Regions from separate parts of the Homo sapiens genome. Here region 2 is linked to region 1. The links are contacts of gene promoters, found by promoter capture Hi-C in blood cells and fetal thymus (Javierre and others, 2016). All regions are on one chromosome and are shown on one strand. The core of a region is centred on a gene start or on the middle of the fragment in contact, and the rest is flanking DNA. Distances in the headings are between cores, read along the strand shown.

Evidence for each region. The method cuts DNA at HindIII sites, captures the fragments that hold promoters and counts their contacts. A CHiCAGO score of 5 or more calls a contact.
Region 2: a fragment that was not itself captured here is called in contact with the fragment with the promoter of SNPH in region 1 in 1 of 17 cell types (naive CD8 T cells); the score reaches 5.1 in naive CD8 T cells.

What each region holds. Positions count from the first base shown.
Region 1 is chr20:1,262,639-1,269,222 of GRCh38, forward strand. SNPH (syntaphilin) reads left to right here and starts at 3,656. Exons shown (of 7, transcript NM_001318234.2): 1 at 3,656-3,759; 2 at 4,016-4,122. RefSeq lists an enhancer at 3,342-3,491 and silencers at 3,892-3,971, 4,072-4,151. The HindIII fragment of the contact is 11,249 bases long and covers 1-4,440 here.
Region 2 is chr20:1,459,269-1,465,852 of GRCh38, forward strand. It overlaps NSFL1C (NSFL1 cofactor), which reads right to left. Exons shown (of 9, transcript NM_016143.5): 2 at 5,061-5,158. Among named protein-coding and RNA genes, the nearest start is that of NSFL1C, 4.3 kb to the right of the region's middle. The HindIII fragment of the contact is 1,220 bases long and covers 2,576-3,795 here.

The DNA.
Region 1 (6,584 bases), core at 2,406-4,905:
TTAAGCAATTAAAAAAAATTGTTCTGTTTTCTTCTGCCCTCCATGGTTTCTGATAAGAAATCAACAGTTATTTAAATTATTATTCCTGTATTTTTTTTTTTTTTTTGACACAGGATCTTGCTCTGTCACCCAGGCTACAGTGCAGTGGTACAGTCAGTCATAGCTCACTGCAACCTCGACCTCCCGGGCTCCAGCAATCCTCCCACCTCAGTCTCCCGAGTAGCTGGGACTACAGGCAAACGCCACTACACACAGCTGATTTTTGTATTTTTTATAGAGGTGGGGTCTCGCCGTGTTGCCCAAGCTGGTCTCAAACTCCTGGGCTCAAGCAATCTGCCTCTTGGCCTCCCAAAGTGCAGGGATTACAAGTGTGAGCCACTGCATCCAGCCTATTCCTGTATTATTAATGCATCATTTTTCTCTGACTGCTTTAAAGATCTTGTTTTGTTTTTAATTTTCAGCAGTAACTGAAAACTATTATTATTATCATTATCATCATTTGATTTATTCTCTCTGGGGTTCACCAGAATGCTGGAGTTTGGAGCTTTATTTACTCTGTTCCACTTTGCTGCCTACTTTCCACAGTTGAACTTGCATCTGGGACCAGGAGGTAGGAGGACAGTGACAAAAAAACAACAACAGGGGCTCACCCTCCCTCAGGACTACAGCTACTTTTATTGAAGAAGTTTCTCCTCCCTCAGAGTTTTAGGCACCTGTGGGTTCCTGCTGTCACAGACACCACTGCAGGATGGCCTAGGGCCTGGGTCATGAGACAATGGAGAAAAGATTTGAAAGGAAAAGAACAATGATATCTCCCACATACTCTGCGCATCAGAAGTCCCTTTTCCTGATCTTCAAGTCAAAACTAGGGAGATTCTTTGGGAGCTTTCTCTTTATTGAGCCCCAATTCCAGATTTTGATCTGCCTTGAGACCAGGACAGGAGTTATAGGAAGAAATAAAGATGATAAATTCACCACTAGTTCAGTGGTAGGGTATATCAAATTCTGGCTTCTTCCCCAGTGTGCCTGCTAGTATTTTGTCTTCAGAATCCTCAAATAGCTGCTACATGCATTTTGTTCAGGTTTTATTGCTGCATTCTGTGGGAGAGTATGCTTAGCCAGAATTGGAATACAATTGTTTTTGAAACTAAAAAAATTTTTAATGTATTTTCAACTAGTCCAAAACAAAACAAAATTACTAATTTATTAGGAATAATTTTGTTTTATACTTATAATCCTCATTTGTTGCAATTTACATTATAACTAAACACCAGTTCTCTTCTCAATCATCTGCTTCCTGATGATAAAGAGAATACTTTACTAGCTAACACCATTCCAGATGGGAGTAATGTGAGTGAAGTCACTGTCTTGCTTTGGGGAAGTTCCTTGTGGAGATTTCTGGGAAATGTAGTCTTCTAAGTACCAAGCAAAAAAAAAAAAAAACCCAAAAAAACCCCCACACAAAACCCCACACACATACACACATGAGGATGGGACAGCCAGGCATGGTGGCTCAAGCCTGTAATCCCAGCACTTTGGGAGGCTGAGGATTGCTTAAGCCCAGGAGTTGGAGACCAGCCTGGGCGACATAGTAAAGCCCCATCTCTATTAATAAACAAAACAGCATGGGAACAGACAAAAAAATATTTTAATGACAATCTCAGAAATGTTCTCCTTCTAAACATGTAATAATTACATGGCTTCCTTTGGTTTCACTTTTAAGTGTAAAAATGTCACTTATATAATTTCAGTGAGCATTAGAGCAGATAAAACATTTTATCAATTAACTTGCTAATATAGCATTAGGTGTTTTGGACAGAAGACCTCAACATTTCACATGGCTTTTTCAACTAGTTTCCTATTCCTGCTAAATTGCTCTGCCATGTTTTTCTAGAAAACATAATATAATAATGGCTATCTGATAGGATATGGTTTAACGGAATACAGGAGAAAATAGAATCAATGTCCTCTCCAAAATTTATTAGCATTTGTTGCAAAAAAAGTAATGGATTTATTGCAGCTCAGAGATACAGGAAAAGATTTGACTGTGAAAAGCAACAGTAAACTTAAAATAATTATTTTTTCATGTACATTATCAATATTAACTGTTTCTCACCAGGCCAGTACTGCAGAGTCATGATGTAAATCAGTGAAGTCACTTTACAAATTCTTCTCTTGGAAAAGTCAGCTTGGGGCAGAGAGTAGAGGGTACCAAGTTCAGCACCGGCGAGAGTAAACAGACTTAAGGACTTAAGAGCCTTAAGAGACTTAAGACAAAAGGACTTCCAGGATGGCATCTGGCCTAGTGTTCCCATAGAAGACTGGGGCCTGGCACAATGTGTGCTTGCTTTCTCATTCACTTAGTCAATATTTATTGAGCTCCTACTATGTGTTAGGCACTGCTCTGGGCACTGGAAATACAGCAAGGGAAAAAAACAAAGTTCCTTCCCTCATGAAGTGTACATTCTAGTGGGAGTGATAAATGACACATAGTAAATATACACTATGTCAGCTGGTAATTAAGTGTAGCAAAACTAGGGGCAAAGGAGGTGGAGAGGAGGGAGTTAGTATTTTATGTAGAATGGTTAAGGAAGCCCTCTCTGAGACAGTAACATTTGAGCAGAGACCTGGAGGAAAGGAAGGATTGAACCATGTGGCTCTCTGGTGTGTTCTAGGCAAAGGGGACAGCAAATGCAAAGGCCCAGCAGTGAGGCCTCAGCAAGAAGGACAGCTTGATGGGAGAAAAGTGAGTGATGGGGAGAGCCACGCAAGATGAAGTCAGAGAGCTGGAGTAAGATGAGGGCATGTGGCGGAGAGCGATACAGAAAACCACTGGATGGTTTAGAGCAGAGTAATGACAGATCAGACAGGCCTGGTTCAGAAAGAAGGAGCCCATTCCCACTCCACCTACTTCCCACACATGAAGCAGATAAGAAACCAAGCCCAGAAAGTGAGTTAACTTATCTAAAGTTGTATGGCTAGAAATGGAAGGGCTAGGCAGAAAATCCAGTTTTTTGGACTTTTTGGTCTTCTTGTTTTCCCTGTGACAGATGGAAGACAGAGGGAAAAGAGCCACAATTAACATTTTAAGTTGTGATTGTTTATCTCTCCGAGATCTTTCCAATGATTCACCTTTTTACTACTTAAGAGGAAAACATTTCCATTTTCAGACACTTAAGATTCCTGCTATCATTGTTAGTAGCCCAAGTGCTTGTCATTCACATTAAATACCCCTGGTACTCAGACTTGGTTTGGGCAATGAAAAATGTTCCTAAAGGCTTTTAGATAAAAATTACTATTTCACTAGAGCCAACTATGTGCCAGGGAGTGAGACTGGTATCATCACCCCATGTTAGAGAAGAAAAAGCTGAGGCCCAGAGAGGTGAAGGGACTTGCACAGGGTCACACAGCCGACCAAGACGCTTTCCACCACGCCCAATCGATCGCCCAGCTCAAAATACCGGCTGGTGTGTAGGTGGGAGAGGCCGCCGCTCCCCGTGTGCTCGTTGTCTCTGTTCCCAGGCCCTCTAGAGCAAGATACTAACTATCTCTTTAAGAAGGAAAGTAAAGACGGGCCGCTTACGCAGCTGCCGGCGAGCCGCCGACTGGCTGGTCCCCTCCATCCACCTCACCCTCCCCGCCCCTCCCTCCCGGCAGCCCCAGCCCCGGCGAGCACCCAGCTAGCCGCCTCCTGCAGGGGCTCGGGAGAGCAATTCGGCGGCCCCTGCAGGGCAGCTGAAGCCATGGAAGCCTCCGCAGGTGATGACAAGGACCCCGGGGATCTCCGGGCCCACCGCCCAGCTGCACCCGCCGCAGTCCAGAGTGCCGAGTGCCAGGGGGTGGGGTGGGGGCCGCGGGCCGCGAGGAGGAGGGGACGGAGCACCCGGCAGGCAGCCTGCCCTCCAAGCCTTCTGGCTGCAGCGGCCCAGCTGTCAGCGGCCGGGGGCTCAGCTGCCTGGGTGTTCCCCGCCCGCGCTCACCCGCCCCGGTCTATCTCTTTTTCCTAACCCCGCAGGTCGCTGATCAGGGCCAGGCGGCTGCAGCAGCGACTGCAGAGGCGCTGCGCCAAGCCGGGCCGGAGTGGTGCGAGCCGGCGGGGCTGCGGAGGGCCAGTGGACTCAGGTGAGGAGGCCGCGGCGGAGCGGGGAGCTGGCCCTGCGCTGCACCGCGGCAGGTGGGGGCCGCTTGCAACCGCTCGCTGCGGTAGAATCCCTTGGAGGGCACCAGCCTAAGAGGGGTTAATCGTGACTCATTCTTACCCTCCCTTCATTCCCCTACATCCCTTTAAGCGCTTCCCTCCCTCCCCCTCCCTGAAATGTAAGAATTAGAGGGTGCTGATTGCAGCAGAGAAGATGCCCAAAGTGGGTGATTAGGAGGCTTTTAGGGAACCCACCCCCCAATTTTATTTGTCTTCCCCTTCTGGCATTTGGCAAACATTTAAGCTTCTCTTTTCCTTCTTGGAGGAGGAGCAGGGGTACCTGGGGGTGGGAGAAGGATGAGACCCCACCCCCACCCCAAGGTCAAGTGCCAATGACTGCTTCCATCCCATCTTTCCCTCTGAGAAGCATCAGGGCCCTGCAGTAGATCTGGGGAAAAAATGCCCATAAGTCCTAGAGTGGACGATCTGAGCCTCCGTCTCCCCGGAGCTTCCCTGGGATGTGAAGCCTTCCACTCCCCAGCCGGGATCTGGGCTGTTTGCAACACCTACTAGCCTGGGGAGCCCCATATTCCCTTCCCCAACCCTGCAGACTGAAAGAGAGGCCGGTCACATGCTGCCCGTTTCCTCTGCCTTCTCTGCCCATCTGGTGGTGTCGGGATGGGCTGGAGGAGCTTCTTAGAAAAAGGTGATCTCTGCAGGCAGAGTCGTGTAAGGAAAGTGCCAGAGATTGGGGTTCTAGGCCCTTAACTTGCTAGTTGGCCACAAGTAGCCATTTTAAAATTCTCTAGGCGTGGGTGTCTGTCTGCTCATCTGTTAGATGCAGGAATTGGATTAAATGATGTGTATAATTTTAGTATATCACTCAAGCAGCTTTTACATGTCAGGGGGACCCCTCTGCTAAGGCAATTTAAATTTAGTTTCATGAAATAATTGGGGTTTCCTCAGTTGATCTCTTTCAACTCTGACTTCTTAAGTGAAACATTGACCTTGTGGGCCTCAAGGAGCTGGAGGTGCCAGACAGTCCTATGTTGACATCCCTGAGCTGCCAAGTGACTTCCCTTCCCCCAGCCTCAGTTTCTCCATCTGTAAATCTAGGGGTACAGCCCGCAGAGGGCTGATGTGAAAATTAAATGAGATGTATGTGGAAGCACCTAAAATAGTGCCTGTGCCTGGCACATAGTAGGTTCTCAGGAACTCAGGACTTGGGAGATAGGCTGGGGGAAGAGAGGAAGAGGTGACTGCTTTTAGTCCTGTTCTCCTCCCCATCCCCTGCCTGTCTCTTCCACACCCCTGCAGATGGTGTCCCTGCCAGGGGTAATGAATGCTGAAGTGTATTGGGTCACCAGGCTGAGGGCCTAGGCAGGCAGCAACATTTCCACTGCAAAGGTTGTGACATCATTCTAGCAAATGATGGTCCCAAGGAGGACTGTAGCCCAGCATTGGGTTTGGAAAATCCTGGCATCCAAGGGCGGAGTCTCTGAGGGAACAGAAGCAGCAGATTCTTGTGTGCTGGCAGCAGGGCAGGGATCAGGTCTTCCGGATCTCACATGAATCCCACTGTGGCTCTCTTGCCCTCCCTGGAGTGTCTCCCTAGAGTCACCCTGAGGCCAGGCAGTCAAGTTTTTGGTGCTTGTATTTTCGATTCTTTATCTTCCTTCCTGCTGTCATTTTCAGCCTAGCACTCAAGCCTTTCTCGCTCCTCTTTATTCCAGATACCTCCTGCCTTTTGACAGCATGATAAAGGAGGTTCTCCATAGGGTTGGGTGGGGAATTTTGCTGCTGCACCATTTGGGCCAAAAGAAGTTGTCATGTCCCCCCACCCCCACCCTAAATTCCTATTTGGCAGAGGCCCTATCATTTTCCTTTCTCTATCTCCAGCCTCTGGCCCATGAGTAGGCCCAAAGTAGGTGCTCCGTAAGTGTTGAATGAAACAAACTTGAGGAAATTATGTCCCTAAGCCAACTAGGTTAGGGAGAAACTGTAGGAATGTGTTGATTATGTAGGTGAAAGCCCTTTTTAGTGTAGGACATCGTCCAGGTTGTTGGTTGTCATTATTATTGCTATTACAGCTACTGTTATTATTGCTATTGTTGGTGATTAACAGATGCTTCGCCTACTCCTCTAGGGCTCCTGACTAGACCAAAAGGGGCCAGATGTGCCTGGGAGGGTGGTGATGTTGGCAAAAAGGGATCCAGATGGTGCCAGCTGGTGTGAGATGACTGTGAAGGGAGGAGGATTGGGAAGGGAATGATTCTAGCCATTTTCTGTGTTTGAGGGAGGAGAGCAGGTAATTAGAATCAAGTGGGACAACATGGATATGCAGTAGAAAGTCAGGAGACCCAGGTCCCATGTCCCATTGAACCACTGCCTTATTATGTGACCTTGGGCCAGTCAGGCCTCCCCTCAAGGCCTCTGTGTGCCCATC
Region 2 (6,584 bases), core at 1,936-4,435, 200 kb after region 1:
GTGAGCTCTCACAAGATATGATCGTTTTAAAATGTCTGGCACTTCCCCCTTCACACATGCTTTCTCCTGCCACCATGTGAAGATGTGCTTGCTTCCCCTTCGCCTTCTACCATGATTGTAAGTTTCCTAAGGCCTTCCAGCTATGCTTCCTGTACAGCTGTGGAAATGTGAGTCAATTAAATCTCTTTTCTTCATAAATTACCTAGTCTCAGGTAGTTTTTTATAGCAGTGTGAGAAAAGACTAACAGAGAGTAATACAGGTTTAGTGAGGCTTTAATGAGCTGTTTACTAGGAAGAAAGCTCCAGTTCAGTCTTGAAGATTTATTTCAAGGAGACAATCAGGGGACAGAAGAGTTTTGAGGATCCATCAACTAGAAGTGAGAAGACAAAAACCAATCAATGTAGCAAACAAGCTCCCTGCATGAGTTGGCTCCTGAGAACAGTCTGCCGGGCATTCCTTGATGCTTGATATGACATGGTTCAAAAGGATCCAAGTGATGAGATCTGTACTAGTACCCTGAGAGTACTAGTTCCACTCATTCATCTTCCCAAAGGGAATTTTCCATACATGCTCAGCCTAAAGTTTCTTCCAATGACTAGGCTAGGATGAGCATCTATGAAAAAAATATTTTCTATCTCCCTGTTGTTAAACTTTCAAATATATGTGTGTACACTTGCTTGGGCAAATCACTTGCTCTGCTATGGCTTTGTTTCTTTCCCCCAAAACTCATACACCCAGACTCTGATGGTATCCGACATTGATTCTGGTATCCATGTACCAGATTCCAATCCCAATTCTGCCTCCTACCCTTGGGATCTTGGACATGCTATTTAAATTCTCAAAGCCTTCATTTTCTCACATGTAAATAAGACAATCACAGCACCAACCTATGGGCTTTCTGTGTGCAGGTGGGGTACTGATGCACGGAAAGTCTTTTGCATGGTGTGGCACATTTAAGTACTACTCTTGAGTAGCAGTTCTCAAAGTGTGGTCATGGACCAGGAGCATCAGCATTACAGTGAACCTGTCAGAAATGCAAATCCCCAGGCCCCCTCTTAATTCTCCTGAATCAGAGCCTCTGGAAGGGGTATCCAGCAATCTAGCCTTAAGGAGCCCCTGAGGTAATTCCGACATATATTCAAGTTCAGAACCACTGTCTGGAGTAATGCTTTCAGTTACCTTATGGCATGGATGTCCTAGGGATATTAGCAATTGCACAATACTTTTGTCCTATGGTCTCTACAAATTGGCTAAATATCTCAGAAAGTTCAATTTTTCAATATTAGAACTATCTCCCAGGCTACTCTGGCATACTGAAGTGGCACAAAACTCCTTCATCAGATGACATTTTCTGCTTTTAATCCGGTTACCCTAGCTCTGCCTCTCTGTGATGATGGAAATGCTCTATCTGCACTGTCCAACAGAGAAGCCACTAGCCACATTTGGCTATTAAGCATCTGAAATGTGGTTAGAGAAAACGAGTAACAATGTTTGTTTAATTTCAATTAATTTAAATAGCTAGTAGCTACCTTGTTGGATCGTGTAATTTTAGAGAATCAGACAATCGTAGTTCCCGGAAGTTTAAAGTACAACTTTTGCTGGATGAAAGAGGGGAAAAAAGGAAGAAACTGTTACCTCTTGCTTGACCCTGCATACAGGGGTGGGAGGTGCTGGCAGGGAGGTAGCATGTGGCAGCAGAAGCAGCTTTGGACTTAGGCAGACTTCGCCTTGAATCTGTGGTAACAGCAGCTGTAAGTTACTTGACCTTTCTAAGAATTAGCATCCTGACCAGCGAAATGGTAAGCACCTTACCTATTTCAAAGCTGTTGAACAGTATCAGAAGAGAACACAGGTGAGAAACATGGCAGAGCTTTGGTGACTGCTCCTGAAATACTAGCCGTCCCACTTCCAGGAATTTACAATTTACTTGGGGAGAAAAATTAAGTTAAATATCAGGAAAAGAGTTCAGGGCAATGTGGGAGAGATGCCACCCAGTAGTACATGGATATAGTCAAAGAACTGAAGGAGTGATAGTTGTGACTGGAGTTCTGTGGAACAGAATTATGGCGTGCAGCCTGGTCACAGGGTTAGCAATAACACGCTCAGCAGAGTGGGGATGGAGGTAAACATGGAAGGATGCATGGGATTTGTATAGGCAGAAAGCAAGAGAGCGGGCACACCTGATCAGGTGAGAGGCTCAAACAAAAGCAGGAGAACCAAAAATAAGGAAGAATTAGAGCACCAAAGAAATCAGTTTGGTTGGAACAAAGGATTTAAGAAATGAGGAAAAGGGAATCAGATTAGGAAGGTGGGTCCAAGGGTAAACTCTGGAGGACTTTGAATGTCCACAAGAAGAGGCAGAACATTGTTGGGGCTGAGAGCTGAAATGCTGAATGTAGAAAACAGCCCTACACTTAAATCCTTGTTTTACTAGCTCTGTGATCTTGGAAAGATACCCAACTTCAGTGTCCTCATCTGTAAAATAGGAATAGTACTAACCTCAGTGCTAACAGTACTAACAACAGTACTAACCTCACAGGGTTGCTGTGAGGACTAAAAAGATGTTCATGTAAAAGCTTAACTCAGTGCCTCACTCGTAAATACTCAATAAATGGCAGCTGTTATTACTGAGTTTAAACTGTCTCCTATAGCAATGGTTAACATTTTTATGTCTGTCAGCCCTTTGAGAATCTCATAAAAGCCATGGACTCTCTTGCCACAAAAGATACCTGCTAACATGTACACAAACTTTTGCCTGTAATTTCAGGTATTAATAGAGACCTTCTCACGCTCATTTCATAGATTCCTCCTAGGGTTCTCGGGCTCCATATTAAGAATCCTTATTCTAGAGTTGGGTGTTGCTCTGAGGCAGCAGTGACAACATAAAAGGGTATGTGAGAAGTCAAAAGTGGGGGATGGGAGAGGGCAGCAGCTGGCTAAGTGTCCTGCAACTGCCAGGTCAAAGCAGAGGCAGGCCCCACACAGAATTCCTCTGAGGTGCTAGCACAAGTTTGGTTTTTCCTGAGAATGTAGTCCTAGCATTTGCTTTCCTCCTCAACAAGGACAAACCATGCAACACACTGCGCCCTCCTCCCTCCCTTTTTCTTGTCTTCAGTTCTTTTCTAAGCCTACTACCAAGTCTGAGCCTTAACCAGAGCAATAAAGCAATGCCTCTTGGACCAAATGTGCGTCCAGTCTTTTTACTCACTTCAGTTCTAATGTTAAACTCTATGTCCTTGATTCTTTTACTTTTATGCCTTTTTTTTTTTTGAGACAGAGTCTTGCTCTGTCGCCCAGGCTGGAGTGCAGTGGCGCAATCTCGACTCACTGCAAGCTCCGCCCCCCGGGTTCACGCCATTCTCCTGCCTCAGCCTCCCGGGTAGCTGGGATGACAGGCTCCTGCCACCACACCTGGCTAATTTTTTTTGTATTTTTAGTAGAGACGGGGTTTCACCATGTTAGCCAGGATGGTCTCAATCTCCTGACCTCGTGATCCACCAGTCTCGGCCTCCCAAAGTGCTGGGATTACAGGTGTGAGCCACCGCGCCTGGCCACTTTTATGCCTATTCTTAAATGTACATACTTGTTGGGGAATAGAGTAAACAAAACAGGTCAATTGAGAATGAATGCTAAAAATGATAATACTAAAATTATAATAACAACACATGCTGTGTTCTATTTGCTTTGTAAGTATTAACTCATTCAGTCTCCCATGTGGTAGGCACTATCATTACCATTTGACAGGCGAGGAAAATGAGGAACTGAAACGTTAAGTAACCTGCCCAAGGTCACAAAGCTTTTACTTAAGTGGCAGAGCTGGGATTTGAACCAACGCAGTCAGGCTCCTGGGCCCATGCTAATAAACCACTGCCTTAATAGAACTTTGGGATTACTGGAGAAAAGAAAGGAGTAAACATGTAACTGGCATTAGAGACTAAGTTTAAATCTCTCCCCCTCTATAATTCTGACATGCCAACATCCCAACAACACCCTAAGGTGGCTGTCAAAGACTCATACCCCAGAAAATCAGCCATCTCTACTAGCAGCTGCAAGAACAGCACTTACCCTAACAACATGTCCCAAGCAGTAATACCCAGATGTGCCATCACCAACATCTCATAGGTTAGCACGTGCAAACAGTTACAAGATCACTTTCCTCCTACCTCTTTTCTCTGGATGGGAGTTAGGGAAAGAAGAAAGCAATGAGATCTGGGGTTAGTGCTCCTTCTTCGAAGGGAGGAAATATATTTTAAACCTCAGTTGCCTTTAGAGAGAAACATAATTTACCACTTCATGGCAAAGAAACACTGTTGGTTATATTCTGGGGTTGAATTCAAACCCAAATAAAATTTCCTGGCTAAAACATACACTAGAGAGTAGAAGCAATAAGGCGAAAGCAGAGAGGGGAGACACCTCTGCTTACACACTCTCTGTAAAGGTTCAGACACCTTTACAGGAAGCACCCCTGCCTGTCTCCTGGAAGACCAGCATTGTCTCACTCTGCAGAGCACAGGAGTAATCTGCTGTGGGTGCTGTGGGAGGCAGCGACAGGGGATGCAAATGGGATTGCAAAGGTTAACACTGTTTTACCTAGTAAGACAAGGTCTCCCTAATCAACTTGGCAAAGGGTGGGTTACACAGGTTTATTTTGTACAAGACTTCTTAATAAGGTAACGGGCATCCTAAAATATCAAAACAGCTTTCCTAAGTCATTTCGCCTAAACTTTCACATCTATAGCACCCTTGAAAGGAAGTTTTTTGGCTTTTACTTAAAAACTTTAGAGTTGCAGTGGTCATTCCTCATACTACATAAGTAAAAGTCTTAAAAGTAGGTTTGTGGTTTCCCCCAGGATTGAACCATAAACCACACCCAGTTAAAAGTCATGCATCTCTGTATAGGAAATGACTGAGGCCTGCTGGGAAGTACTACCCATTGACTCAGTCTAACCTTCTCATTCAGACCTGGTCCACACACCCAGGCCTGAACGCTCTGGTCAGAAAATAGCTCCTCTTCACTGCTGGAAACACTCATGTAGCGATAATTGAAGCTGGCCCTTACCTGGGGGCTGTGCCTCTGGACACTGAACTGGGGGTTGCCTGCGAAATGGTCACAATGTCTTCATCCCCTCCGTCCTCATAAAAGCTCGCTAGCGCGATCTGAAACAGAGAGGTAGTACCTTGGGACCCTTAAACAGGCCTTCACCTAACGCACATCTCCTTTGAGCACAAAGGAATACAGACATGGCCAACACTTACAAGGTAGCTTGCATCCATGGGCCAAAGAAAATTAGACCAGAAGGTTAACAGCTCAGCTGTTAGTCTTCGTGTCAACTGAAACAAATTCCACCCACTAAGGTGAAAAGAAGGCAGTAAGAATGGCTGGGGTGGAAGACACTCTTTATTCTCATTTTATGAAGAAACGTGATCTAGTAAAAGTAGCACACATTTAGTGAGCATTTACATGCCAGGTTGTTCTGAGCATTCTACATACGTTAATTTGTTTAATCCTCAAGAACTCTATGCTATTAGTACTCTTATCATCTCATTTTATAGTTGATACAGAAGCACTGAGGATTAAAAAAAAATTTGTTCAAGTTTACACAACTGGTAAAGAGAGGAGCCAGGTTCCATCCCTGCTAGTGTGCTTAGGCCCTCACTCTTAAGCGCTTCCAGTACAGCCCGGAGTCAGGAACTGTGGAGTCAGTCCAGGTTGCTACTTTTCCTTTCTTTCAAGTTGTTTCCTAATCTGTGAAATGGGGGTACCTGTCTCACCAACCTGCACACTGGATGAGATAATCCATTAAGATTTATGCATACTCGCATCTTAGGTTTACACATACAGAAGGAATATGGGAATCCTTTGGTCATTTGTGACATCTCTGTCACCAACTCAACGGACAGGCATTCACTAATCACTTGCTTTGCACAAACACAAGAAAGCATTGAGGTCACAGAGATGAAATAGACATGGCCTCTGTCCTCAGGGTCACCAACTTCACAGGAGACAGTGAGCTGTCAAGGGATAAAAGTAATCTGCTGGGAGGCAGTGTGCTGTCTCAGGCCATGTAGTGAACTGGCATTCTCAGGGAGCCTACATTCAAGTCCTGTTCCTGCCAGGCAAGTCACATGCATGATCCTCAGTTTCCCCACTACAATGTGAGGGGAACGAGACAGAAGATCTGTTGGTCACAACACTGTGTGCTTTTAGGTCTTTCAGGTAGAAACTTTTTATTTCTGCCCAGCATAGGGGCTTCCCATTGTGTCTAGGTGTGATCTAGGTGTGATGCTTTACCGAATTCTTATGTTTGGGGAGTAATTTACGTTTGGCAGCAGACTCAGTTCAAATTCCAACCCCGCTACTTACTGGCTATGTGACCCTGAGCAAATTCTTTGCCCTCTGTGCTTCCAATTCCTCATCCATAAAATGGGTCTAGTCTTTACCTCATAGTGTTGCTAGGATCCAACGAATCATATTATGTAAAGTGCTTGGCACATGGTGGTTTAAAGCTTGGGCTCTGTCTGCTTGCAATCAGACAGAACTGGGTTCCACTTCTACCTCTTCTGCCTGGTAGCTAGTGAGGCC